Regions from separate parts of the Homo sapiens genome. Here regions 2, 3, 4, 5, 6 and 7 are each linked to region 1. The links are contacts of gene promoters, found by promoter capture Hi-C in blood cells and fetal thymus (Javierre and others, 2016). All regions are on one chromosome and are shown on one strand. Each heading gives the region's core, a stretch centred on a gene start or on the middle of the fragment in contact. The rest is flanking DNA. Distances are from core to core; before and after follow the strand shown.

Region 1 (4,023 bases), core at 486-2,985:
TCCTATTTGAAATTAGTATATACAAACAAAGAAAAAATGTTAAGTTGTTATCTCTCAGTCCAGATGTCTTATTTTCTTTACTCTTTTCTGTATTTTCCAAATTTCCTTCAGTGAACATCTTCAGTTAAGAGGCCTTAAAAGTTCATTTGCTAGTATTATGCTGAAAAGTTCTTTTTTAAAAAATAAAACTACAGTTCAGCACAAGTGAAATTTAATGCTCTTTTTACTATCATTGTATCTTTCGAATATCTGCACCATTATTTGCCTTCCATATGTATTAAAATATGGAAAGAGCCAAAAGAGACATGTAATTCAAGCTCCCCTTTCTTCCCAAATGAAATTCCCCCAAATAAGACCACCATATTTTCAATTTATTAGGCACTTCCGCTTAACTTCTCTTCATAATTATAAGGAGTTCTTTTGAAGTTTATATGTCCTTGTCTTTGTGTTTGATCTGTCTCTTCACTGTGCTGTAGGGACACATCTTCCGCCTTTAAATTCCATCAATCTCCCTTCACCTCCCGCTTCTCCTGTGTCCTAGACAGTGTGTATAATTCTTTGCTCTTCAGCGTATTCAATATAAAGAAGGTAGCATATAAAACAGTTACATAATGCAAGCTTTATTCGTAGTTAGAAAATCATTATCAAAATGTTACCATTGCAATCATTTCCATAGACTGTCACGTAACCAACACCTGCAATGGGGAAGTGGTACACAATCCAACACAACTCATTAGGGGCTCTCAGTCTATTCAATCTCTGACACTCCAGCAGCCTCAGTACCACTTCAGGAGCCAATGCAGTCTACCTCTCTCCAGAGAGCAGTGTTCCACCTTTCTGGGACAGAAGTCAACAATCGCGTTCCCCAAGAGATGGAAAAGAAGTGGAGGAGGGTGAACAGGTTACCAAACCCACTTAGATACACTCCGCATAGACTAACTCTCCAAATTAAAGGACAGGAGGTCACCTGAGCTGACCATAAAAGCTCAGAGTGCTGATGCGAATAAGATCAGGGAAGGCTGCTTATTAACACCGTGGTCACTACAAAAGTTCTTGAGGGCATCTGCTGTGAGTTTTCCATCGTTCCTTATTGTCCTCCTGCATCTCCTGTTGCTTTTCTTGGCCCTCTCCTTTTCGCATTTTCTATGTCCTTTGCCCAGCAGTAGTACTGCAGGCATAAACCATTGTCGACCTGAGAATTAAATTAGCATTTGGTAGCCAGACCTCTCCTTGAGCCTTAGAATGCTTGTGTGCTTGAGGTCCCTGAAGTGTAACGTCATCTCAAAGCGCAAGTAACTAAAGGGAACCTACATGTGACAAGGTGCAGCGGAGGTTCAAGCAGAGCACCCTGGCCGCATCGCAACAGATTATAAAGTGTAGGGGATGAAAATGATGGAAGACATCAGAAAGCCGAGCTGTAAAAAAGCCCAAACTAAGCAAACTGAGACGCGCAAGCGCGTTGCTCACAGCTCGTCTCCCGAGGCCGAGCCACAGCGCCTGCGCACAGAATCCGGGGAGGGTGGGGAAGAGATGAGCACCCAGGCCTGGAGCTCCCACTGCCTCAGCCTCCCTATCCCCGCAAGCTCCGCCTCCTCCAGCTGCTCGCCTTCCCAAACAACCGGGTTCGCCGCCGGCGCTTTCTGCCCATTGGCCCTTAGCCTTTTCCGTTTCCGCCCAGCCCTCAAAATCCACCAATCAGTTTGCACTTTTGGGTGAGGGTCCACCTCCAAGGCTGTCGCTCCGGTTCCTCTGCCTCCTCTGGCTGCTGCCTCCGCAGCTCCCTCCTCCTACCCCACCTCCTCCATCTGGGGAGCGTCTGCGGGGGCCTGAGGGGCGGCGGCGGCGGCGGCGGCTGCGATATGGAGCCAGGGGCCGGCGGCCGAAATACTGCTCGTGCGCAGAGGGCCGGGTCCCCGAACACTCCGCCGCCCCGGGAGCAGGAGCGGAAACTGGAGCAGGAGAAGCTCTCCGGTGTGGTGAAGAGCGTCCACCGGCGGCTCCGCAAGAAGTACCGAGAAGGTAAACAGCGCGCTGAGTGAGGGAGGAAGGGGAGGCCTCATCACCCCCAACCGCTTGTCACCTCTTCCCTCCTCCAAAGAGGCCACCATTAAAATGTAAAGGATCTGCACGTCCCCCCAGCCGCTGCTGCTCTCCCGGGCCTGGTCTGAGCCCCCTAGTCGGCATCAGACGCGCTCCTCCCCGCCCCCTTTTCTTTGAGGGCCCTTCGGGAGAGTTCTAGGCCTGTAAAGGAATTGAGTCCCCACCCCCTCCAAGCCCCTGTCCCCAGCCGGGGTGCTGAGGTTGTTGTCTCGGCACACACAAACACATACACGCTCACAGAGGAGGTGGGGGTCGCTTTTTGCAAGAGACGCCGAGGTAAAACAAGACAGGTAAAATCCATTTGTAAAAGACGAAAAGAAACCTGAGTTGTCCCTCCTTTACGCTTGACCTACCGGCTGTACCATTTGCTTCCTTATCAGACCCCCTTCCTAGTACTTCATTCCTACAACCATGCCGAGCCTTCCTCGCATTGGCTTCCAGGGCTGGGAAGCCAGCAGGCCTTTTAGCTGACTGGACTTCACATTGTTAAAAGGGGGCGGGCTACACTCGTGGCCCCCACTCCCATTTCTTAAATACTTGGTCTTAACTGTTTATTTAGGCGATGAGGAAGAGATCTGGGCAGGTTCTGAAAATACCGTTTGTATTGGAAGCCTCCTAAAGACACCTGCCGATAAAGCCCACCCTCGGCTTCCATGGATGGGGTTCCGGTGAGAACCCCCTCTGTGGAAGCTCATAGGGGAAGAAGCCTTAGTGGCTTTTGCCTGTGCCTGAAGAGTGTTTATAGTTGGAGTCTACAGTTATCCTTGATATCTTTAAATATAGGCTTTTGTACACAGCTGTTTTATAAGATTTTGACAGTGAAAATTCTGTTTTCATAGGCTTGGGAGAGAGACTTCTCCTGAGTATCGAAATGAGGAAAGCTTTCCACTGGTTCTCATTTTAGCTTAATTGCAAACTGAAAAGTCAGCAGCCTTCTGGTGTTAGTCCTATACTTAGTTAATAATTTAGGATTAGAAGGAAAATTATGGCAGTGAAGGAATACAGACAGGTAAGATCATGTTACTGTTGATTTATACACACGTTTCAACTACTCTAGAAAGTTAAAACTAAGTATCCTTTGTTCTTTTGAATGTAGTTGATATGTTTCATTTTTCAAACTTTAAAGGTTTCTTTCCTTAGCAAATCAAGCTTAGCTTTTAATAGAGGCTGTTTAATCATCCCCAAATGGGGCTTGTAGTTATTGTTTAACAGATAGCAATAGAAAGAGTCTTATCAGACCTACTTAGGATGGTAAAATATGTTTTTTGAAAGAATGCTACCCAAACCCACAATTTAGTCAATAAAATGAGTAGTTACCATAGCAACAACTGCATCATTCTTGATATTCAAAGAATGCTCTTACATAATGGAATTCACTGTAGATTTTATGTTATTTGGAGAGATTAGGAAATAAATGGACACATTTTCCTGCAATTTATCCTGCTATTTTGTACAAATTTAAGTGCATCTTTCTAAAGAGAAAAATGACTAGCATAGAATTCCATTTCTATTTTTACCTTTTAATAATTTCATTATTCATTTATTCATAAATGAATAGGTTCCACTCAAATTAACACACTAATGTGGCATCTCTTCAAGTGCTGTTTATATGTGCTTAGTTCCCACATGTTTAACCATGTTTTAAGCCTGAGTATTAACCACAGGAACTCTTGTTTATGAGAATCGGAAGTTACCAGATCTAGAATAGATACATGGAGTTCATAAGTGAATGATCTAGTATGCTTCTGGGGAGTTAAAGTCCTGGCAGTTTAAACATTTGAATGAGACTATTCTTTAGGCGCTTTAATACCCTGAATTTCACCGGTGATCTAGACTTCTCTAGGCTTTGCTTGAATGATATACAAAGCCCCATCAGTGAATTAGCAGAATAAGTGATCCTAATGAGCATGCTCCTTCTACCTT
Region 2 (4,023 bases), core at 960-3,459, 510 kb after region 1:
GTCCTTGGGCATTCATGCTCCCATATTTATCATGTAATTATAGGAGTAGGCAATAAGAGGATGTGGCTAAATGGCTGGCCTGATGACTAATATCGTCTAGCATTAAATTGTGTTCATACCGCCAACACAACACTATTAAAGGCAGCAAGAATCACTTGTTTGTTTAGTAAATATGTATTGAGCACATAGGATGTAGATGACGCCAAAATGGACAAAATATTTATGAACAAGTACATCTATATCAAGGACAGAATGTGGAGATGCTTGCTTTCTAGGAATTGAGGCCTCAGATGACTGGAGTTTCCATATAAAGGAGTTTCCAAAAAGATCGTAATGAATAGACAGAATACTTGGTAGCCCCTTTCTTTAATTCGAATACTACTTTCATAACTGTGACATTTCTGCTTCCACTCATTTAGGCAGAGAGAGTAACCCCTATGACCTTTGGTCATCAATGCAGATAGTGGAGAAACAGATTATGGAGGTTGGGACAAGGGAGTTTCCTACTGCCCTGGATGTTTCCCTCCCAGTATTGCAATAGGATGGGAAGGAGGACTGCATAGATATAAGGAATAGGTGGTGGGAGGGTGAACTGCGGCTGTGAGTCTAAAGTTAAATGATCATACCACACCTCATCCAAAACCTGGCTTCTAGGTGATTTCACCTAAAATATTCCAAACTGATGCATGTCATTCATGTTCTCCAACACAGATAAGAGAGTAGACTCCATAGGTAGTAGCAGAGTCCTGTTTCTCAAGAGGAGGAAAAAGTCCTGAACTGTTATGCTGAATTATCAAATTTGAATTTTGTTACCACATATTTATATATTGAGACCAATCAATCTTAATTCAAAATATATAATATGACATATAGTTAAAACAATAGTATATGTCTTCGTATAATAATTTCTAGCCAAAAGAGCAAGACAGAAACCTCCTAGTCTAGCCTTAAGCTTCCTTAGCTCCCTTTGTGCCCTGTAAAGCACTAATGGTGTCAGTAGCTTTCTGGCCACAACAGGATACACAGGATACTGGTAGTAACAGCAATACGCTCGAAAAATAATAAGCAGAAAATGTTCTAGGATCAAGGACACATGAAGAAAAGAAGGTGGGAGGGAGGGGAGGAGAAGGATGAGGCAAGAAAGAAGAAGAAAGGAGGAGCTCAAAGGAATGGTCCTTCCACTCTCACTGGCCTTTGGGGAGCTTCTGTATCAATTAGCTGGGGAACACGGTGCTGACCTAGGTGAAACATGATGCTGGGAGAATCTTCTACATCAGGCCCCAGGCTGTATGAGTACCCCAGGCCACTTCTGGCGGAGTAGCAAACTGCAGTAGGTGATCCTTCTGGCTCCCTTTAGTCTAGTCCACCCACTTGGTCAACCCCAAAATGAACAGAGATAGAAAGGGGATGAAAAGTAGTTAGGAGTGAACATATGTGTGGAAGAGAAGCAGAGAATTAGCCCCATTCCTGGACATGGGCTCACGAAGGTTTATTTTGGGTAGGCCAGATGTGAAAGACTTCTCTATTTTCTAGTGTTCCCAGGGCAACAAAAATCAGGGCTCATGTCATTTGTGATGAAAAGGAAGTTTAGACTTTTACCAGGTTCTCCTTCCTAAGTGCTTCTGAAAATCCCCAAGGAATGCTTACCTGTTCCACACATCTTCCCTAGCTACTGCTTGTCCCTTCAGCTAAGAGCTAGACTGCTGCTCCAGTCTTCAGCAGGCCACCCCTGGCCATCTCAGAACCACCTTCCAGATTGTTGCCAGGCTTCCCTATCTGCTGTATTCCCGGCACTGACACATGCCCATCCCTGAATCCCTGAAGTACCACAACAATCAGGAGGCTTGGGATAACAGAAGGGAATTATGATATAGAAAACAGCATTTTCCTAAAAAAGAATTGGGCTCCCAAATCCTTCACCTGCCTCAGGTTGCATCTTTTCTACGTTGCTGATTACAATTTTTTGCTTTCCTTGGCTCCTAACTCCCTCTGTGGAATGAGAGTGGGCAGCTCCAAGTCCTTTTATCCAAGAGAAGAAGCCCTTAGGGCTCTGCAGGTGCTGTCAACCCCACCATACCTCTGATTTGTATCTGCCAACATGGAACAGACATGGAGAGGATAAAGAAGTAGGAAGAAGCTGAGAAGAAGGGAGATGAGAAAGTGCTGACTGAAACATCAGCACTATGCTCTATGGCTCAGAAGTGTCTTCTAATAGTAACATTCTATATTTTATTTATATAACAACTTTTCTCATGAGTTATGCTCTTATAAGAAAAACTGAAGGACTATCAATAGAAAACTTAACCAAGCTGCAATTTTTGTAACATGAGGTTGCAGAGTATATTCTTTTTTAGGAAGATGCTAGGCCTGCCTTATCCCGAAAGAAAAAAGAATATGCCTTGTTTATTGAAATTGCTAAAATATTAAATTGATATCATGAGTCCCATTTTAGTGTGTCTGAGTGAGAATCTGTTGAAGCAGACGGGACATTATGGGAAGAAATCTTACAAAGTAAAATTAGATTTTTCATACACAGAGTAGCAGCTGTTCAGATTGCAGGAAAATCCTTAGAAGCCATTTATCAGGTGGCAATGTGGTGAACAACAAAGACAACTCTTCTTTCAGATGTGAGAATGGTCCAGCACACCTCTGTGACTGCAGATGACAGCATGCTGTGTTCCAAATATTGGAACTATTGAATAACTGATGTTCAAAGATTTATACATCTGAATGAACATTCTAGAGTGCAAATTGCCTTTGACTTAACGTGACCAAAAACAGAATTCTAAAGTGTAATCACATGCTGGATGTGCCCAACGACTATGATACAGAGTGATGTGTGCATAGGCCAGTGGTTTCTTTAGGTACAAGACATGCCAAACACAACTGAATAGCCAGGTTTGAGATTAGGCAAGTGTTTTAAAGTAGAAAAAGCCACAATTGGGATAAAAACAAAGCAAGAATATGGGAGACAAACAAGAAAGTACAACGGAGTAATTGCAACTAAGGCAACTCAATTGGTAGATAGGTCTAAGAACCAAAGAGTTCAAACATTTGTAAATTATTTTCCTGCTTTTGGACAGACAGGTCAAAGTTACTTTTCTGAACTAGAAAGATTTGTAGGGAGATGAATTTTAGAGGCAGTAAAGGGCCACCCCAAAGTAAAACTGTCAAGTTAATAAAGTCTGTTGTCATGATGACAATAGCTTTTGAGAAGAGGATTGACATGATGTCAACGTTTTGTTTTGAGGAAGATTAATCTACTGGTAATAAGAAAGATGACTTGAAAGGGGACGGGCAGGGTGGATTCAGGTTTTGTGTGTCTGAAGCTAATACCAGCTTTAAAAGGGTAGGGGCTCTGTTTAAGAAAAAGAATACAGATTCAAGTATACAAAATTTGCTAGGGCCCTTCCCAGAGCCTTTGAATGGCTTCATGCAAGGAAAGGAGTCTGAAGGTTAAGCTTCCTTACCTTCGATAAGCCACCTCATAAGCAGATGATAGCTAAGCCACTAACAGTGTCACCCTCATCTTGCCAGCCACCCAAGTGAGACCCCCAGGAGTCATCTTTTATCCTTCATCCTATTTCCTCTTCAGTCACCAAGCCATGCCCATTTAATTTCCTAAGTATTTCTCAAGTTCATTTATTTCTTCATTCTTCATTCCAGTACCTTAGATCTACCTGTCACTGCCTCTTAACTACTCCATTGCAAATAGCTTTTCCAAACTCGTTCCCTGTTTCCACCCTGTTTACCTCCTAGAAACCTATCCTTCACCCAGCCGCTCAGAATACTCTATCTATGGGTAGATCTGATAATCTCACACTTCTGGTTAATACTCTTCATTAAAGCTTCATCAGGAGAAGGCCCAAGCCTCCATAGTATTATAAGCAAAGCCTGTGTGATCTCACCCCTTTGTCAGCTCAGCTCTTGACACCCTTGCTTTGCACTTCTCACATGTCAGCACAATACTGCATTTCTGGCAAATGCCTTGAAAGTTTTTACATCTGGGTTTTTGGTTCCTGA
Region 3 (4,023 bases), core at 1,014-3,513, 490 kb after region 1:
TTTTTTAAAACTATAAAAGTCTAGAATTGCATCTTCAGGGCTTTTTAATTCTATTAAGGTCAGTTCTGAAGCTATAGTGAAAAGAAACAATCTAGCTTTGACATTTTTTCATATCATAACATTAGTGGACAAGCAGCTTAAAGCAAGGTTTCGTTATCATTTCTAGTTGAAGATTAACTTTTAATTCAACAAATTCATTTCTATTATAATCAAATACAGCTATGTATGTGCTATTATGCTAGAATAATGACTAATCTGACTCAATCTAAATTCTAATGGCATGTTACTACCCACATTAAAGTCCAACGGAATAAGAAACATCCAAAGTAAACAAATTAACCTTTAGGAAAAATATATTGCTATTATCTGAGAGCTGCACAAATTATATACATGTAAGGTAACTGATTAGAATCACACAGAATAATCATTTCTCTTAGCTTTTGACTAAGATCAAGCATAGACTCACACAGAATGGAGTTTCCAGTATTGCCTACCTCTTATCCAGGGTTAGGTCAATTAATCCCTTCAACTTGTACTCTAGGTCTTCTTGAGTTCCTTCCTCATCAAGGACTTCTGGTCCTAAGAAATAATATAAAACAGCCATCGTAATTTAAAAGAAAAAAAACAGGGAATAATAGTATACTTTAGCTACAAGAATTCCTCCACCTGAAACATTTTATCTAAAGTTGCAAATTTAAATTTAAAACTCATACCATCTTCAGCAAAACTGGAAGGATCGCTATAACCACTGCAATGGCTCATTGTTTCAATTGATGCATCTTCATCACTAAAAGGCTGAACATTTCGATGCTGGCCACCTATTAGGTAAAAGAGGAAAGAGGTAAATTATTTTATTGCCATATACCTAAATATTTAACTTTGGAATTTTTAAGTTTACTTAAAGAGAAATCCAGTAATAAAACCACAGACTCATTTTATAAAAAGAGATTTTATCACAAGTGAACATACTTAAATATTCTTAAACTAAGTTCACCTAATTACGTATTTCAAAGGACCAATGATACATCAACTATACGCATCAGTCCTCTAACAAGAGGCATTCTTTTTTTTGTTTTGTTTTGTTTTTTTTGTTTTTTTGAGACAGAGCCTCCCTGTCGCCCTGGCTGCAGTGCAGTGGCACAATCTTGGCTCACTGTAACCTCCACCTCCTGGGTTCGAGCAATTCTCCTGCCTCGGCCTCCTGAGTAGCTGGGATTACAGGCGCACACCACCACGCCTGACAAATTTTTTGTGTATTTTTAGTAGAGACAGGGTTTCACCATGTTGGTCAGGCTGGTCTCGAACTCCTGACCTCGTGATCCACCCACTTCGGCCTCCCAAAGTGCTGAGATTACAGGTGTGAGCCACTGAGCCCAGCCGACGCACTCATTTTTTTATGACACAAAAACTGATACAAAGGTGGGCGCGGTGGCTCCCGCCTGTAATCCTAGCACTTTGGGAGGCTGAGGCGGACAGATCACTTGAGGTCAGGAATTTGAGACCTGCCTGGCCAACATGGTGAAACCCCGTCTCTACTAATACAAAAATTAGCCCGGTGTAGTGGTGCGTGCCTATAGTCCCAGCTACTCGGGAGGCTGAGGCAGAAGAATCGCTTGAGCCTCGGAGGCAGACGTTGCAGTGAGCCAAGATGGTGCCACTGCACTCCAGCCTGGGCGACAGACCAAGACCTTGTCTCAAAAAAAAAAAAAAAAAAAAAAAAAAACTGATATGAAGATGAAATAATTATTTCTAGACCATGATTTCAAATCATGAAGACAATGAAAACAGATCCAGAAATAGTGTTGTATCATAGATAATCATAAGAATAAGACAAATATATTTTCCAATGAGAATGGCTGGACTTAGCAAACATGAACTGGTGAATGGGTTTTTAGGTTACACATGTCTTATGTTAAGGGGAATTAAGGAGTTAAGGCAGGGTAGTTTTAAAGACAACTTGAAGTGAGAGAAGACAAAAAAGGCTTAAAATAGAAGTTTTGGTATTTGATATAGTATAAAAGCCTATCAGATAAACTACCTTTAAGGGAAAGTTTCTACAATGTGCAAGAGTTTAAAAGTACCAATGCTGGCCGGGTGCGGTGGCTCACACTTATAATCCCAGCACTTTGGGAGGCTGAGGCCGGCAGATCACCTGAGGTCAGGAGTTGGAGACCAGCCTGGCCAACATGGCGAAACCCAGTCTCTACTAAAAATACAAAAATTAGCTGGCCCTGGTGGCAGGCGCTTGTAATCCCAGCTAATTGGGAGGCTGAGGCACAGAATCACTTGAACCCAGGTGGCACAGACTGCAGTGAGCCGAGATAGCACCATTGCACTGCCTGCCTGTGGACAAGAGTAAAATTCTGTCTCAAAAAAAAAAAAGTACCAATGCTGTTACTAAAAAAATAAAATCTTCTTTTTAAAAACTAGAATCTTTCTTTAAACTTCATTAACTTCAGGAATAAATATACAGTCACTTAGGGATTTTGTATTAATAAAAGGACTGCCAAGTCATAAACTACAATTCAGCACTGAGTTAAATTAAGTCCCAAATTCTGCCCCAAAAGTGACCGTGAGTCACCTGATTAACCTCTGAACCTAATTCCCTTTCAGTAAAATCAAAGTTCGTATGTTCAAACGTCACCACCTTAACGGTTTTTTTTTAATGCTCCAAATTTAAGCCTGTTACTGTTGGGCTGGATTTTTTTTTTTAACGGAGTTGTCTTTTTTAAAATCAAAACAGAGAATTTAGCAGATTTTTAAATTAACACAGCAAGCAAGTGGCCTTCAGATTTGCTTGCGTGGTGCCAAAGTAGTAAAGCATAAAGATTAAGCAATGAAGCCAAAATCTCAAAATTTCTTGGAGTGCTTAGGACAGGAATAAACAAAGACCTATGACATCACACTCTATTTCTGGATCTATCTTCCTCGTTTTTATGACTGAAGTAATGGCAACAGATGAGTGTCATCTGATTAATTTTATTAACATTTATTCACAAGTCAATTCACAGTTTTTCTTTTTCATAGCCTATTTCTAAGAGTATTCCTCCTATGCAGCTCTTACTCTGCTCCCTTAACTCATCAGTATTAATGATTTCTAAGATTCGAGGGAAAGAAAAAAAATACACATATATATGTATCAAGAAAAAGAACCCTGTATGAATGCCTGATATTTAGGTCAAACTCACCCACCCACACTGTGATCCTAAGTACCACGAAAGAGATGGCACTCTAGGCACATAAAGTACTTATTTCTAGAGGGCTTACTAACAAGGTTTTGTTCTTTCTTAAAAATATTCTCTTTAAATTAAGTGCTATGACATACCTGTATAAAAGAAGTCAATTTTATTAGCTTCCTAAAACTCTCCACTAACATAAAAAAAATAAAGAGTTTAAATAGAAAACTCATTAAAGTAATAATGACAATTTGGTTACATAGTGGAGACCTCATTTGAATCCCATTTCTTTTAGATGTCATTTAAAAATACTAGTTAGGTAAGTGGCTTGTTAAGTAAGCAAAAGTTTGTGTAATTTTCCATCTCTTCTACTCAACTATTATTTATTCATTGTTTATTAAACAAGTAAAACATTCACATAGGACCAAGTTAAAGTTTTAAAAAGTAAATCTCACCCCCATACCTTTCCCCAGCTCCACTTCTGAGGTAACCACAGTTAACAAGTTCTAGCACACACTTCCAAAGATATTCAAAGCATGTATTGTGTTATAAATTAATCAAAGAATTATTTTCCACTTGTTTACATATGCTAAAATTCAGTGATGAAATGGATCTTTTCTACTAAAATAGTGAAAAGGTAGCAGCAATAAAGCTGATGAAAGGTCACAAATGAGCCCTGAAGCAAAATTTAAAAGGCAATCCCCATACAGCCACCAGAGGCCTGTATAGGTACTATAAGCACAAAGAGGGAAGGAGGCTTGCCCAGAAACTTTAGACGGGATTAAAGGTTTGTGCGTGATCTAGGCCATTACTAACATCATTATAACTTTCAAACTTTAGCTTTCAA
Region 4 (4,023 bases), core at 792-3,291, 480 kb before region 1:
TCTCTGCTTAATGTTCACTGCTAGAAAACTTAGCCAAATGTATGGTCCAACATCAGCTTATGTATATATGTATATTATCCTTTTGATTTTATCTTTTCAAGTATTATTTTACATATGTTCAAATTTTCTCACCTTTCCTTTTTATATTTTATTTTATTTCCCCTTAAATCATCTCTTAAACAAGAATGAGTATACATAAATAAGTTCTGCATATAGAATTGTTTTCATTTACAATCTTTTAAAATTCCAATGGGGAAATGATAGGTACCAGTATAAATGTGACTGCTGATAATTTCTGTCCAAATAAAAGGATCAAATAAATAAATTTCTTAGGCATGACATCAGACCTAGGGAATCAGTAACCCTGAGAGAGGGGTCCAGCAAGCTGGGTTTCAACAAGACCTGTGGGTGTTGGGATGCACACTCCACATTACTCCATGGGAAAATAGGTATCACATGGGTCTCACTCACGCTCTCTTTTGCCCTAAAAACAATCTTGACTGTGCATGGGCAAGTTTTCAACCTTGATTGTGTACTGGAATCATCCAGGAAGATTTTTGTAATCATGACATGCCCCAGAGCAATTACAGGAGGAGTTGAGAACCAGTTATCAATATTTTTTTTAAAGCTCCCAGGTGTTCTGATAGGCAGTCAAAGTCGAGAGCAAATTCTCTGTCTCTAAAGACAGGTTCATAGGTCCAGTCATAAAATTAATGAATATTTTCGGCATCTCTGAGTAGTTCTTCAGGCTTAATCTTCCTCCAAGAAATCCAAACTGCTATGTAGCTGTGTCATTTTGAGAAATTAATAAGCTGCATTCCCATCTCACTGCAACATAAATACCATGCTAGTCAAAGATTTAAATGTTTAAAATATTGAGTCTATAAAAGTACTAGAAGAAAATATGTTGAAATTCTGCAAAATCTTTAGGTAAAAAAGGCCTCAGAATAAATAACTGTGGCATAAACCAGAAGCAGCAGCAGGAGGCCAGATAAATCCCACTATGTAAACATGGGTACAGAATGATAATGATATCAATTATGAGCAGGCAGATTATTTCCTATGTTCCCTTTGACTTCTCTACAGTATTAACTTAAGCATGAGAACTGAACCTAGTCTTCATTGATACAAAGTGAAGAGACACCTCATGTTAGTCAAAGATAATTATGTCAGGTTCTTGGCCTTTCTGTGGCCCAATTTAAATACCAAAAAATTATGGGAGATAACTCTGAGCCAGTTTTAGTCTATCTAAAAGGAAATAAAAATTTTCTCAAAGGTAGGAGAAGGAGGTTTGGGGATCTAAGAGTGACAGGAGACTTGTACCCCATCCTTGTCTGGAACACCAGGAGGGAAGGTCCTTCACAGGAGTTGCGACTGGCATCACAGCATCATGGGACCAGTGAAGATGAAGTAGGAGAGCTGAGGCAATCCCACCAATTTCCTGTAGCTCCAGAGAGCAACGGAGGAGAAGATGAAATTACCCTGAAAAGTACACAGCTGTAAGTTCTGAGAGAGACCTATGGGACCTGAAGAGATCTCATTGGTTGTAACAAGAGCATACACCAGCAGATGGCAGCAGATGGTTGTAACAATAGGAAACCAGCAGGTGGCTGCCACGGGGTTGGGGAACACAGCCATTTTAGTGAGGCCAATCATCGGTGGGTGTAATGGCCAGCTCAGCAGATGCAAACAGGAGCAGAACCCAGCTGAGGGACCAATCATATTCCCCCAACACCATGACCCTCAGAGAACACCCAGAATTTACAGTATCCCCAGGGAGAAATAGAGGTAGAGGAGTAGAGGAAATCCTGAGTTGACCTTGTTTAAACTTGAAATGGATGGAATTACACTGGAGTGAATGCAGTTCACCTGTTATCACGTGAAACAGAGGAAGGGCTGGAGGAATGCCAAGAATATGAACAAAATTGAAGTACTCAGAAATGAAGGAAAATGTTATTTTTAATTTTTTATATACCTGAATATAGCCTGAGAAAATGATACCTTAGAAACTCTGCAAAGCAAAAAAATTATAAATTGTCAAAAGACAAACTTAGAAAGTGAGAGCAAATATTGGCAAAACAAGGGGCTAATTTTCTTTTTCTTTTTCTTTATTTGACAGAGTCTTACTCTGTCGCGCCCAGGCTGGAGTGCAGTGGCATGATCTCAGCTCACTGCAGCCTCCGCTTCCCAGGTTCAATGATTCTCCTGCTTCAGCCTCCCGAGTAGCTGGGATCACAGGCATGTGCCACCATGCCTGGCTAAAATTTGTATTTTTAAAAGAGATGGGGTTTCACCATGTTGACCAGGCTGGTCTTGAAATCCTGACCTCAAGTGATCCGTCCAACTGGGCCTCCCAAAGTGCTAGGATTACATGCGTAAGCCACCATGCCCGGCTAATTTTCTTGATATACAAAAAACTTTCAGTACCTTTTAAAAAGTTTACTTTTTATTAAACAAGGAGAACTATACAATAAGTACTGTGCAGTTCACCCACCTGGAATATACCCTCATTTCTGGAATTTTACACTGGAATAAAGAGAGCAAATAAAATAAAGTGGTCAAAAATTCAATCTGTGTAAAAAAAAAAACATACCTAATTGACACTTTTATTACTGAGAAAACATTTGGCTGAAAGATCTGAATTTACAATATATTAGTTAAATCTTAGCATATCATCCTTTCTTTTTCCAAATTGCAGCGTCATAGAATTGACATGCTAGCTGTCCTTTCCTTCTTTGCCTAGATCACGAGAAACTGTGCATGCAAATCATTCACTGGTTCCAAGAGTTTCCCCTCTAATAAGTCAGACTACAAAGAAACCCATTCTACCCACCTTTCCCTCCTCTTTCTCCCATTAATAATCAATATTAGCCAACCCCATTTAATTTTAAAGAATCGCCTTTGAATTATTTTTCAGGAATAGACAAAACTAACGGTAAGAGGTCAACATCCTCAAAGCCACTGTTACGTATTCCAGGCTTTAGTACATTATTCCTAATGGTGTCCCAGAAGTCTAGATATTTTCAACTTAGGATGATTAATAAACATTAACAAATTTTTTAGCCTAGTGTGGTGGGGTGTGCCTGCAGTCCCAGCTACACAAGAGGCTGAGGCAGGAAGATGGCTTGAGCTCAGGAGTTAAGGGATGTAATATGCTATAATCCCACCTGTGAATACCCACTGTGAAATAAAGAAAAAGTAAAGAAATTAAAAATTTTAAATTCGTTATTACATATTTGCACCCATTCTTCAAACTATCAAATATTACTGTGAATGTATCATAATTTATCCAGTTATCCATCATTTAACTGAAATGTGTTTTTTCCTCATTAATGTACTTATTAAAAAGGGGTAAACTTTTTTTAGATATATTAATATATGTTATCTACATTTTTTCTATTTTTACCTTATTTTAACTTTGCTATACAACTATACCCCTTTGTCATAGATTTAAGATAGTTCGACTTTTGCCCTGCATCCCTTACACCCTCAGTATATTCAAAGACTTTGCCCCTGCAATTATCTCTTCTCTCATTTGTATCATTAATTTTTCCTTCTCTATTCTATCATTCCCATCCTCACAAAATAACTACTGTAATAACTCCTTTCTTTAAAAAAGAAAGATTAAAACTCTCTCCACAATTCCACTTTATTGCTTCTAATTACACAACCACTCAAAATAATTGTCTTTGTTCATTTTCCACATTTTCATCTCCCTCCCATTCTCTTTTGAATCCACTCACACTACTGCTTTCAGTCTACTCTGGTTAAGGCCACCCATCATCTCCATATTATCAAATCCAGTTCTCTGAGTTCATTTACTTAAGAATGGGCCAGTCTTCATTAAAAAAAAAAAATCCTTATTTAGCTTCTGGGACTCCTAGTTTTCTTTGTATGTTGCTGTCTCCTCCTTCCTGATTTTCTGCTGGATTCACTTTCTCATATTAATTGTGGAGCCCCCTGAGGCTCAATATTTTGGACTCCTCTCTATTTACACTCACCCCCAGGTAATGAATTGCAAAT
Region 5 (4,023 bases), core at 450-2,949, 470 kb after region 1:
CACATAAAGCTTTGTCTCCCTGCCCACCTGGCCTAGTCATTTTGGACTCTGTACCTCAAAGCCATAAATAATATTTCTTCTATTAGAAGAGAAGCACTTTCAGTGTGGAAAAAAATCTTTATTTCAAAGTAAAATGCACAAAGTCTCATACAGCAGATAAAATCAGTGTTACTGCTCTCAGATGTTAAGGTTAGCAACCTTTCTGGCATATGCTAATTCATCATGAACTCCCAATAGCTGAACTGAATGGCTTTTAAGTACAGCTATAAGGTCTCATGGTATAATTCCTTTTGTTGATGCCAGTGACAGGATTTTAAAAGCTACATTCCATTAAAAATTAAAAATACAGCAGCTTTTCCAGGGGAACTAGATCCCAAAATTGTACCCAGAACTCTTGTCTAAGATATTAAGTTAAATATCTTGCATGTATATATCATTATAGTAAATCAGTATTCTTGACAACCACAGTGTAAGAAATTAAACTTTGGCTAATTGTTTTCCCCATCATGAAATCAGTCTTTTGCTGTCTTCATAAATAAATTATGACCAAACATTACAAATACTTTATACATGTTTACTGATTTACAGAGAATATTTAATAATCAGAACTCACCAGTTTCAATAGTATTGTACATTAAATTATAAGCAATATAACCACTGCTACAAAAGTTATCTAAGTTAATCCAGGATAAAAACTGTGTCTAGAGTTTAAATACATTGAAATAGAAAAAAAAATAGAAATTAGAAAATAGTCTTCAAGTTCTGAAAATCTAGAAGAATTCTCCAACATCTGCTCTCTTATCTCGACATTTGCTTCTAGCTTTGGTTCGAGCTTTGAAGGCTGCAGAGTTATATAAATGCTAAAATGAAAAAAAGGAAAAACGTGCATCAGTAAGACTTAAGATATTCTTACAAAACAGAAAAAGGGTAAAAGTCACAAAGAAAAGAAATGAACTAATTTGACCCTATAAACATTTAAATGTTTATAAAACACACACAAAGAATGAAGGAGAAAAACAAAGAGTTAACAGGGGCCATGCAAGGTGGCTCACACCTGTAATCCCAGCACTCTGGGAGGCCGAGGTGGGCGAATCACGAGGTCAGGAGATTGAGACCATCCTGGCTAACACGGTGAAATCCCGTCTCTACTAAAAATACAAAAAATTAGCCAGGCATGGTGGCACATGCCTGTAGTCCCAGCTACTCGGGAGGCTGAGGCAGGAGAATCGTTTGAACCCGAGAGGCAGAGGTTGCAGTGAGCCGAGATCACGCCACTGCACTCCAGCCTGGGCAACAGAACGAGACTCCGTCTCAAAAAAAATAAATAAATAAAGAGTTAATGGCTATTCCATATTAAGAAAAGTACTAATCAAATTGTAAAACGCCAAGAAAGTTAGACGATTTCAAAAACCAACAGTGAAAAATGGACATCAACATTGTTTCATCCAAGAAAAGACAAATCATGACTAATGCAGAAAATAGTCCTACTTGGCTGTCAATTAGAACAAGGAAAAAAGTGATGAAGTGCCATTTTAATATCAATTAAATAAACACATTTTTTAAATTATAAAACTCAATGGTGTCAAATCTTTGTGTAACAGCTACATGCCTTCATTCATTGCTGGAGACAATTTAAATATCGTCTCCAATATAAGAGTAACTTTGGAAAGTAATTTGGCAATACATTATGCAGGGGATTTCTTCAAAAAAATTATTCAAAAGAGAGAAGTATGTAAAAATATTAATGTTTCTTAAAAAAAACTTAAAATGCCGTACAAGAAACAATTATGTGGATATAAAACTGATAAAATATCCAGGTTCTATAAAATGTAATTAAACACTTCACACCCACCAGAATGGCTATAATTAAAATAATTATTAGTGAGGATGTGGAGAAACTGGAACCTTTCTTTCTACATTGCTGATGAGAATGTAAACTGGTGCAGCAGCTATGGAAAAGAGTTTGGTGGTTTCTGAGAAAGTTAAATGTAAAACTATCATCTGACCCAGCACAATTCCACTCCTAGGTAATACCTCCCAAAATTGCAAAGAGCCTTTCAAAAAAAATTTTGTATGTGAATGTTCAGAGCAACACTATTCACAACGGCCAAAAGATGCAAACAGCCCAAATGTCCATCAACTGTTAAAATGGATAAACAAAATGTGATATATATCCATACAATGGAATATTATTCTGCCACAAAAAAGAATAAAGCTCTCTGAATTCATGCTACAACATGAATGAACCTCCAAAGCATTATGCTAAATGAAAAAAGCCAGACACAAAAGGTTGCATGCTATATAACTCCATTTGTATGAAATCTCCAGAAAAAGTAAATCCAGAGACAGCAGATTAGCGGTTGCCAGTGGCGGGGGGTAGCACAAGGGAAGTGACTGCTAATGAACAGAAGGTTTTCTTTTGAGGTGATAATGTTTTGGAACTAGAGTTGTACAACATCATGAATGTAATAAGTGCCACTGAACTGTATACTTTAAAATAGTCTGTTATATGAATTTCATCTCAGCACAAAAAAAAATACATAAATTAAGGATTTTTGAAATGCAGGCTGGTCATGGTGGCTCATGCCTGTAATCCCAGCACTTTGGGAGGCCAAAGTGGGTGGATCACCTGAGGTCAGGAGTTCGAGACTAGCCTGGCCAACATGGCAAAACCCTGTCTCTACTAAAAATACAAAAACTAGCCAGGTGTGGTAATGCACACCTGTAATCTCAGCTATTCAGGAGGCTGAGGCAGGATAATCACTTGAACCTGGGAGGCAGAGGTTGCAGTGAGCCGAGATTGCACCACTGCACTCCAGTCTGAGTGACAGAGCAAGATTCCATCTCAAAAAAAAAAAAAGAAATGTTAAGTAAAAATGATATTAATTACTATTTAACTCTCTTAAGTTTCCTCATTTGTAAAACGAGTCTGGTACTTCACTTAGCAGGCTATTATCTGATACAAAAGGACTATGTAAATACTTATTCTTAAACATAAAAACTCCAAAGAATAAAAAGAAACAAATAATGAACACCGTTCCTATATTAAGATAGAATTATACGTAAAATATATATGTACATATTAAATTTTAACGTGTTGTCAAAATATGTTTCATAAAATGAAAGAAATACACCTAATGGGCAAACAAGCAGCAATATTCTTTTCTCTGTTTTGCTTTTGAGACAAGGTCCCACTCGTGTCACCCAGGCTGACACATATATACACACACACACACACACACACACACACACACACACACGCCCCCCACACTCTAAATGCTTTCTGTATCTTTAGTACAGCTATTCTATGTGAAGCATCATGAAAAACTAAAACTCCACATATAGGTAGACACAGCTAAGTTGCTGACACTAGACAGAATCAAAGCTTTGGCGCACTTAGTTTTATTAAAAATAAAAACAAAACCTACCCTTTCGAAACGAGAAATCTTCATCGTTTTAAGCGTTGCAGCATCAAGCATCACTGGGGGTCCAAGTTCAAATACATTTCGAAGGAATTCATTTGACTTATGTGAAAGAAAAAGGTGGTATGGCTCAGTATTAAACATTATAGCTCTTTTTCACTAGACAGAGTGACTCTGATTAACAGAAGTTATGTGGAACCCACAGATAAACTTAGATCACTTATTTTCTGTTTCTCAATAGAAAGCAAATTGTTTTCAATGCCTTGAATCCAAGACAGCTATGTCAAGCTATTTGCTTTCATACAGACATCAGTAACCGTCCACCCAACTTTAACAATACAAAGAAAAAAAAAGGAACAGCTTCAGATTTATTCAAGTCTACTTTCAAAAACAAGTTTACTGTTTTCTAACATGTGGAAGCACTCTGGATACCTAATTAATTTCAAAAGCCAATTAAGTGAGCTATATTCAAGACTGCTCCCTACTTTAAAAGCAAATATGTAGAAAGGATGACACTTACCTGCAAGTGGTACTGCATCCCTGATCCAAGAACCTCCTTAAAGGTGTCATAGGTGTGTTTTTTTACCCAGCAATCAATATA
Region 6 (4,023 bases), core at 893-3,392, 440 kb after region 1:
CAACAAGTATAAAAGGATATAAAATACAAACTAAGTCTCTAAAAATGTTCTTTTAATGCCCAGTTTTTTCCCGAAAATTAAAAATCCTTGAACTTATTTTAGGCCTACTTCAAGAATACATTAGGAGTAAATTTCTGTGTTTGTGCCAAGAAAGAAAATCTATTTGATCAATGTGTGGTGTTATTACAGTCACTTTCTATCTTAATTTTACTCTTCTTAAGTTACTTTTCCTCCTCGCAACATTTCGAGACATGACCATGGCAAAATCCTACCACCTAGTGGAAAAACTCTCTGCTCTTTATTCTAAATCCACTTTAGAATTTAGAATACATTAGCTGTTAGCCATTAACTACATATGTAGATCACTTTTAAAACTTACTTTTAAGAGAATGAGCTGTTCAAACATCTTTAATCAATGAAAAAAATGTAAATTTCAGTACCAAAAACTTCAGCAATGTTACCATTTCCAGATAAACAGTATATTTGAACTGAAGATCATTGTTAGGACTTTTTCCATTTTTATGTTCATTTAGTGTTGAGAACATTAAGATCTAGACACAAATGGGTGACATCAGGCACAGTTTTAATTGTCCTTTCATATTAAGCATGATAAATTCATATCCATACCTATCTATGGCAGTCATTCAAACTCAGAAATGATGTCTTTTCTCTTCCAACAGGTCTGTGAAGCAACTCCCATTCTTTTAGTAGATTTTGAGTTTGCTTTTTTTTTTTTTTACAAGGAATAAACAACAATTCTGTTTCTTTATAGATATAGATTTTCCAATGCTTTGTTTAGTTTGATTACCCAATCCCAGGCAATAGTCTTGAAGGCACAAAACCTGCTTTAGAAATTACAGACTGAGGCAATAGAGAAGAGAAGGGAAAGAGAGGGAAGTCAGAAAGCCAAAAATTATAATAAAATACAGAAATAAACAGCTATGAGGAAGAATTTAATATCATATGCTATAGATCCATGATGTGTTTTTAATTTCTAATCACTCAGATGAACTATGGAAAACCACCATATTCATCCATAAAATATCCTTGACTGCCAAAAGCAGAATCCTGGGCTAAATATCTGACCCAATATGGGTGGACTTTCTTTTCTTAGGTCAAAAATTAAGACCAAAGAATAAGTTGGTATGGAGCCAAAGAAAATAAATAGTCAAAAATCAATCAAGATTCAACTAAAGGTGAGTGCTAAAATAATTGGAAGTAAAACTACACCTAGGAAGCTGATACAAAATGGATGTAGGAAAAGCTTGAAAAAGGAAATGCCAAGTATACTGGGTCAGAAGCCAACCATGAGAAAAGAGTGGGTCTAATTTAGAGCATAACAGTTGCTGGGGGGTTAGCGAACCATCCAGTTATAAGCTGGGTCTCCTAAGATCAAGGCAGCCTAAGCTCTGCCTTCACATCCATGGCTCCTAGATCACCACACTCCATTTTAAACACTTTATTTGCTGAGGAAAAAATGAAAATTGGAAGGCATCCAGAGAAAACTAAAATGACCGTAGAAGGACAGTTTAAAAAAAATGTAAATGAATTAAAGATGGAAAATCTGTTTAAAGGACAACAAATGCAAAGAAGAAAGAATGTAGGAATGAAAGAATGTAGTGCACATTCAAATTTCTAACAAAAAGGATGAGAGCAGGCAGACAAAAAAACTAAACCCGGAGTGGTGGCACAGCCCAGTGGCGCAATGGCTCACACCTGTAATCCCAGCACTTTAGGACGCTGAGGCGGGAGGATCACTTGAGCCCCGGAGTTTGAGACCAGCCTGGGCAACAAAGCAAGACCCCATTCCTACAAAAAAACTTTTAAAAAATTATTCAGGAATGGTGTCACACACCTGTAGTCTCAGCTACTTGGGAGGTTGAGGCAGAAGGATTACTTGAGCCCAGGAGGTCAAGGTTTCAGTGAGCTATGATAGCACCATTTCACTCCAGCCTGGGTGACAGGTCAAGACCCCGTCTCAAAAAAAAACAACAACAAAAAAAGAATTAAACCTGGAGAAACCATAATGCAAAGACGTTCAGGGTCTTGGGCAAAACAAACCAAAAGACCAAGACGGTGTAAATCACAGGGAACATAGCAGAGCTTTATGAAGAAGAGAGGACTTACTGGCTGGGTATTTCTTTTTCTAAACTTCGTAAGTCAGGAATTGAGCTGAACACTGCAGAAAATGTCAGGAACACACAGACTTTCTTGTCTGTCAAATCTCTAAACTAGAGCAGTTTCTTCGGTTGTCAGCCTGTGCAGTTGCAGAGGACACTGTGCTTGGTTTAATATTCTGCTATTGCCATCTTGAAATTATTAAGAATTTATAAACACGGGGCCTGCACTGCATTTTCATTTTGCACTGGGCTCCACAAATCACATAGCTGATCCTGCACTAAATTCAGACTGTAAAGAATTCCACCACAGGCCAGGCGCAGTGGCTCATGCCTGTAATCCCAGCACTTTGGGAGGCCAAGACAGGCAGATCACTTGACGTTAGGAGTTCAAGACCAGCCTGGCCAACATGGTGAAACCCTGTCTCTACTAAAAATACAAAAAAATTAGCCAGGCGTGGTGGCAGGTGCCTATAATCCCAGCTACTGGGGAGGCTGAGGCAGGAGAATAGCTTAAACCCAGTAGACAGAGGTTCCAGTGAGCCGAGATCGCACCACTGCGATCTCCATCTCAAAAAAAAAAAAAAAAAAAAAAAAAAGAATTGCACCACTACCAGCAAAATGTCTCTTTTGTCCTACATCTGAAAACAAAACAAAACAAACAAAAACCAGACAAATTTGAGTAGAGAGTAAAGCAAGAACAAGGACAATCTATTCACCTCCTTTTCCTGCAAGACCCCCTTTCTGTCTCACCTGCTGACTGAGCTCCCCCTCATCATCCTTCCCCAGGACAGCAGCTGCAAAGTCAAGGAGAGTGGACCTTGACTGGACGAGCTGCATCATCAGAGTCCACTAAGCAATGGATTCCTCCACAAAGGTCACTATAAGTTAAGAAAAGCTTTCCCTGGTCAACTGACATCTCTAATCTTTCCAGGTTAAATCATTCTTCTTCATGAAGAATCCACAATCCACCTTTGAGGAGTAAACAGATGCATTTGCAAATAAGAGAAAGCCTAGGAAAATTAGAGGTTTCTTATCCCCAAGCAATTTTAATAAGGAGGAAACTGTAGGAAATACATATGTATATAAATACATTCCTAAAAGCTACTGTTTCTTTACTCATTTATTCAAAAAGCCTTCTGTCTGCCAGACACTGCTAGGCACTAAGGTTTCAAGGATGAAAAAGAGAGACATGGTCTCTACCCTCGTGGTGGTTACAGCCCAGTGGAATGCTGACTGTGAACCAGGAGTTATGCTAAGTGTTTCACAAACACGTGATCTCCTTTCAACCACTATAGGGTCAATGTTATCACCCTCATTTTCAGAGAGGAAGGAACTGAGAAAGAGGTTAAGTTTCCTTCCCAGGCCACACAGCTTTTAAGAATCAGAACTGAGATTCTAATCCAGTTCACCTGACTCCAAAGTCCATCTGGTGCCTGAAAATATTAGGGTAGGACTCCTTGAGGAAGCAAAACCAAAAACATTTTAGAGGGTCTGTTTGAGAAGACTGGATACATGCAGGAGGGATGTTGAAATGAAGGGATTAGAAAGAATATCCCAAAGAGAAGGGACTCTCTGAACAAAGACATCGTGGAAATAGCATGCTATAAAGAACCTACAAAGCAGGATTTGGGAACTATTAAAGATTTTTTACTAGGGAGGGTATAGATTTACATTTTTAAGAAGGTTATTCTAATGGCCTTGTGGAATGAGGACTCGAAAGAGACAAACCCAGAGTCTACGAGACCGGTGGGAAGTCTGTTGTGATCATGTGGACAAAACACAATTATGGGCTTAAGTAGAGCACAGACAGTAGGGATAGGGAGGAAGGGATGGATTTGAGAAATGTTTTAGCAGTTGGAAAGGGACAAATTGACTAGATAGAACATGGTCCCGGGTTAGGAAT
Region 7 (4,023 bases), core at 1,054-3,553, 390 kb after region 1:
TGGATATCTAATAGCTTCAGCATTTGCTGAAACACATTTGTCAACAATCACTTGACCGTTTACATACCGGTCTATTTCTGAACTCTCTGGTTTATATGTCTATCCTTACACCAATGAAACTATTTGGATTATAGCAACTTTATAGTAAATCTTGAAATCAGTTACTGTGAGTCTAACTTTATTCTTTTTCAAAATTATTTTGGCTCTTCTGGGTAGTGTGCACTTCAATATAAATTTTAGAATCAGCTTGTTAATTTCCATTAAGGAAAATGCCTCCTGGGATATGCGAGATTTTATTAAATCTATAAATGAGGTTAACTGACATTTTAATTCTATTGCATCTTCCAATTCATAAATTCAGTATATCTTTCCATTTATTGTAATTTTATAAAATGTATCTAAGCAATGTTTTGTAGTTTTCCTCAGTTGTTATTCTGGGGATTAGACAAACTCACAATTCTTACCCCTTCTGGTTCAGAGATTAAACTTTTGTCTGTCTTTCAGCTGCTTTTCAATACTTTCTAATATCTTTAAATAGTTTTTTAATTATTTAACAAGTTTTTATAATTATCTGCTTGGAATTTGTGGGATCACTTCACTCCTCCAAAAGCAAACTCCTTAAATATGTTGATAATAATCAAGTCTAAAGCAAAGATTAGAGCTCTTCTTGGCTCTAAATTCTATCAACTTTCTAGTCACATCTGGTGCTTGCATTATGATATCTTCATTTTAGTCAGCTAAAGCCTGAAATAGGAAGAACAAAATAGACAAAGCAAGCTCGTTTTCTATCAAGCTTCTTATATTTGTGAATTACACAGATTAGAACAGATTTACCAATCAGAAAACCCAAAGATGTGGTCATTCTCTCAAAATATTATATTATAAAGCACGTAAAAATCCTCATGGAAAGTGAAGTAGTGAGGAGAGTACAAGTACATATTTCACAATATTATCCAATGTGTTTTATTTCTCATTTCCAGTAATTCCTCCTACCATGCAACTATTTTCCCCAATTTCTTCGTTCAGAAAGCAGCAAGAGCAAGGGGGTCTCATATTCACTGCCATGTTCAGGTTTTGTTGTTACAGCAGAAATGAAGTTGGAAAGAAATTAGTTAATACTAAGTATTTGAAGTACAAATTAGACTTGAATATTCTGACAAAAACAATATCCTTATTTAACTTAATTATTCAATTTTATTTTTAAAATATTTGACTAGTTGATACATGTACATAGTACAGCATTCATAAAGTACAAAAAAAGTCTATCATGAAAAAGTTTCCTTCACTCATTTCTCCCCACCAGCAAGTTTCTTCTCATGTTTTCTTCTAAAACCTTTATAGTTTTATTTTTTATATAAAAATACTTGAATCATCTGAAGGTATTTTTATGTAAAGTGTAAACTGTGGATCCACTTTGGTTTTGTTTCCAGGTGGTTACTCAATTGTACCAATACCATTTGCTAAATAATCTACATTTCTCTTTACTAATCTGAAATGTTGCTTTCATCATCTGGATATTGAGGGCTTTAAAGCAATAAAACAATTTCAAACTACATACACCTCTATTTGCCTTTTTTAGATCACTACTTAATTTCACATTGTTTTTGGTATTATGTAGTAAACAAAGAGAAATTTTAACTTGGAAAAATTATTTTTATAAAACTTTCTAAATGATTCATCAGTTTCCTATGATTAGCATTTAGAGAATACTTACTATATAACAAGCAACTCACTGGGTATGAAGGAAATGGAAGTGTTTATATATTTATTTATTTTTGAGGGTCTCACTCAACCAGGCTAGAGTACAGTAGCGCTATCACAGCTCACTGCAGCTTCAACCTCCCAGGCTGAAACAATCTTCCCACCTCACCCTCCTGAGTAGCTGGCCACAGGCATGCAACACTACATAATTGCTTGCTTAGCTGTACTATTTTTTGTAGAGACTGTGGGTGGCTATATTGCCCAGGCAGGTCTTGAACTCCTGGCCTCAAGCCATCTTCCTGCATTGGTCTCCCAAAGTGCTGGGATTACAGGTGTGAGCCACCATGCCTGGCTGAGTTGTTCATTTTGATAAAACGTTTGCTCAAAACCTATCCTATGATAGACTATCTGGAAACACAAACCATCAAGAGGTTTATCTCTGGGGAAGTGACTTAATTTTTATGGCATACCCTTTTTTCACTTTTTGAATTTTATGTCCTATGTCTGTTACTTATTTTAAAAGTTTTGATTCTAAAATCCTATGGAGGGACCAAGATGGCCGACTAGAAGCCACTGTGAACCACGGCTCCCACTAAGGAGAACAAAAATGGTGAGTGGATCCTGCACCTTCAGCTGAGGTATGCAGATTCTCTTATTGGGACTGATGAGGCGGTTGGCATGACCCACAGAGAACGAGGAAAAGCAGAGTGGAGCAAAGGCCCACCCGGGAGCTGCACAGGGCAAAGGGAACTCCCAACCCCAGCCAAGGGAGGCGGTGAGTGATTGTTCTACCCCACCCAGGAAAACATGCTTTTTCCATGGATCTGTGCAACCTGCGATCAGGAGATCCCCTCCGTGAGCCCACGCCACCAGGGCCTTGGGTCCCAAGCACAGAACTGTGCAGACATTAGGTAGCCGCTCAGGTTGCGGCCAGTGGCAGCACACTGGAGACTGCCTAAGACACACCCAAGTTGGTTGGGTAGGGGGTGGGGACAGCCGCCATCCCTGCAGCTCCAGTCGGCCGTTCTCCCCTGCCGGTGCCAGGGAGACCGGATGATTTGCACTGGGAGGAATTCCCCACGGTACGGCTGTGGCAGACCACGGCCAGACTGCTTCGTTAGGTGAGACCCGGATCCATTTCTCCTCACCAAGCAGGGCCTCCCTGTGGGAATTTCAGCAACTCCAGCCAGATGTTTACGGACAGAACGCTGATCTCCCTAGGACTGAGCCCCTGCGGGGAGGAGTGGCCGAAATCTCCATGGTTCAGGGGATTTAGTCTTTCCTGCCTGCTGACTCTGAAGAATCCAGGCAGCCCGGACAAGGGGGGTTCCCTACAGTGCAGTGCGTCCACTCTGCCAAGGGGCAGCCAGAGTGCTTTATTAAGCGGGTCTTGATCCTGTGTCTCCTGACTGTGTGAGACCCCTCCCAACAGGGGTCGCCAGACACCTTATAAAAGAGTGTTCCCACCAGCATCAGGTCGGTGCCTCTCTGGGATGGAGCTCCCAAAGGAAGGAGCAGGCAGCCATCTTTGCTGTTCCGCAGCCTCCACTGGTGACACCTCCAGGTGTGGAATGACCTAGGTGAATAGGGTCAGGAGTGGACCCCCAGGAAACCACAGCAGCTCTATGGAAGAGGAGTCTGACTATTAAAAGAAAAATAAATAGAAAGCAACAACAACAAAATGAAAAAGACCCCACAAAAAAACCATCCAAAGGTCAGTAGCCTCAAAGTTCACAAAGATGAGAAAAAATCAATGCAAAAACGCTGAAAACTTGGAAAGCCGGAGTGCCTCTTCTCCTCCAAATGACTGCAATACCTCTCTAGCAAGGGCACGAGCTGGGCTGAGGCTAAGATTGATGAACTGACAGAAGTAGGCTTCAGAAGGTGGGTAATAACAAACTTCAGTGAGCTGAAGAACTATAGTCTAACCCAATGCAAAGAAGCTGAGAACAATGATAAAACATTACAGGAGCTGTTAACCAGAATAACCAGTTTAGAGAGTACCATAAATGACCTGATGGAGCTGAAAAACACAACACAAGAACTTCACAATGCAACCACAAGTATCAATAGCCAAATAGACCAAGAAAAGGAAAGAATCTCAAAGCTTAAAGACTATATTGCTGAAATAAGTCAGATAGACAAGATTAGAGAAAAACAGAATGAAAAGGCATGAACAAAACCTCTGAGAAATAGGTGATTATGTAAAGAGACCAAACCTACGACTGATTGGGGTACCTGAAAGAGACGAGAACCAAGTTAGAAAACCAAGTTAGAAAACATACTTTGAGATATCATCCAGAAGAATATCCCCAACCTAGC

The links. The method cuts DNA at HindIII sites, captures the fragments that hold promoters and counts their contacts. A CHiCAGO score of 5 or more calls a contact.
Region 2: a contact is called between a fragment that was not itself captured here and the fragment with the promoter of SAMTOR in region 1, in 4 of 17 cell types (fetal thymus, total CD4 T cells, naive CD8 T cells and 1 more). The highest score is 7.6, in fetal thymus.
Region 3: a contact is called between a fragment that was not itself captured here and the fragment with the promoter of SAMTOR in region 1, in 9 of 17 cell types (naive CD4 T cells, fetal thymus, total CD8 T cells and 6 more). The highest score is 16.2, in naive CD4 T cells.
Region 4: a contact is called between a fragment that was not itself captured here and the fragment with the promoter of SAMTOR in region 1, in 2 of 17 cell types (M2 macrophages and M1 macrophages). The highest score is 9.2, in M2 macrophages.
Region 5: a fragment that was not itself captured here is called in contact with the fragment with the promoter of SAMTOR in region 1 in 4 of 17 cell types (total CD4 T cells, erythroblasts, fetal thymus and 1 more); the score reaches 6.2 in total CD4 T cells.
Region 6: a fragment that was not itself captured here is called in contact with the fragment with the promoter of SAMTOR in region 1 in 2 of 17 cell types (M0 macrophages and M1 macrophages); the score reaches 7.5 in M0 macrophages.
Region 7: a contact is called between a fragment that was not itself captured here and the fragment with the promoter of SAMTOR in region 1, in 3 of 17 cell types (neutrophils, naive CD4 T cells and M2 macrophages). The highest score is 6.6, in neutrophils.

The regions. Positions count from the first base shown.
Region 1 is chr7:112,937,587-112,941,609 of GRCh38, reverse strand. It overlaps SAMTOR (S-adenosylmethionine sensor upstream of mTORC1), which reads left to right and starts at 1,735. Exons shown (of 5, transcript NM_152556.3): 1 at 1,735-2,019. The coding sequence starts at 1,860. RefSeq lists enhancers at 1,267-1,606, 1,261-1,777 and a silencer at 1,807-1,906. The HindIII fragment of the contact is 2,363 bases long and covers 621-2,983 here.
Region 2 is chr7:112,428,104-112,432,126 of GRCh38, reverse strand. LOC105375457 (a long non-coding RNA gene) reads left to right here. Exons shown (of 3, transcript XR_001745325.2): 3 at 1-4,023. It also overlaps a transcript of IFRD1 not described here. Among named protein-coding and RNA genes, the nearest start is that of IFRD1, 20 kb to the left of the region's middle. The HindIII fragment of the contact is 2,509 bases long and covers 955-3,463 here.
Region 3 is chr7:112,452,558-112,456,580 of GRCh38, reverse strand. It overlaps IFRD1 (interferon related developmental regulator 1), which reads right to left. Exons shown (of 12, transcript NM_001550.4): 2 at 714-818; 3 at 495-579. Among named protein-coding and RNA genes, the nearest start is that of IFRD1, 4.1 kb to the right of the region's middle. The HindIII fragment of the contact is 6,019 bases long and covers 1-4,023 here.
Region 4 is chr7:113,419,470-113,423,492 of GRCh38, reverse strand. No RefSeq gene overlaps it. Among named protein-coding and RNA genes, the nearest start is that of SMIM30, 300 kb to the right of the region's middle. RefSeq lists an enhancer at 1,354-1,876. The HindIII fragment of the contact is 5,117 bases long and covers 1-4,023 here.
Region 5 is chr7:112,472,267-112,476,289 of GRCh38, reverse strand. IFRD1 (interferon related developmental regulator 1) reads right to left here. Exons shown (of 12, transcript NM_001550.4): 10 at 3,943-4,023; 11 at 3,429-3,524; 12 at 1-860. The coding sequence ends at 771. Among named protein-coding and RNA genes, the nearest start is that of LSMEM1, 6.7 kb to the left of the region's middle. The HindIII fragment of the contact is 3,376 bases long and covers 12-3,387 here.
Region 6 is chr7:112,497,058-112,501,080 of GRCh38, reverse strand. No RefSeq gene overlaps it. Among named protein-coding and RNA genes, the nearest start is that of LSMEM1, 18 kb to the right of the region's middle. The HindIII fragment of the contact is 1,751 bases long and covers 1,267-3,017 here.
Region 7 is chr7:112,545,994-112,550,016 of GRCh38, reverse strand. No RefSeq gene overlaps it. Among named protein-coding and RNA genes, the nearest start is that of LSMEM1, 67 kb to the right of the region's middle. The HindIII fragment of the contact is 3,015 bases long and covers 796-3,810 here.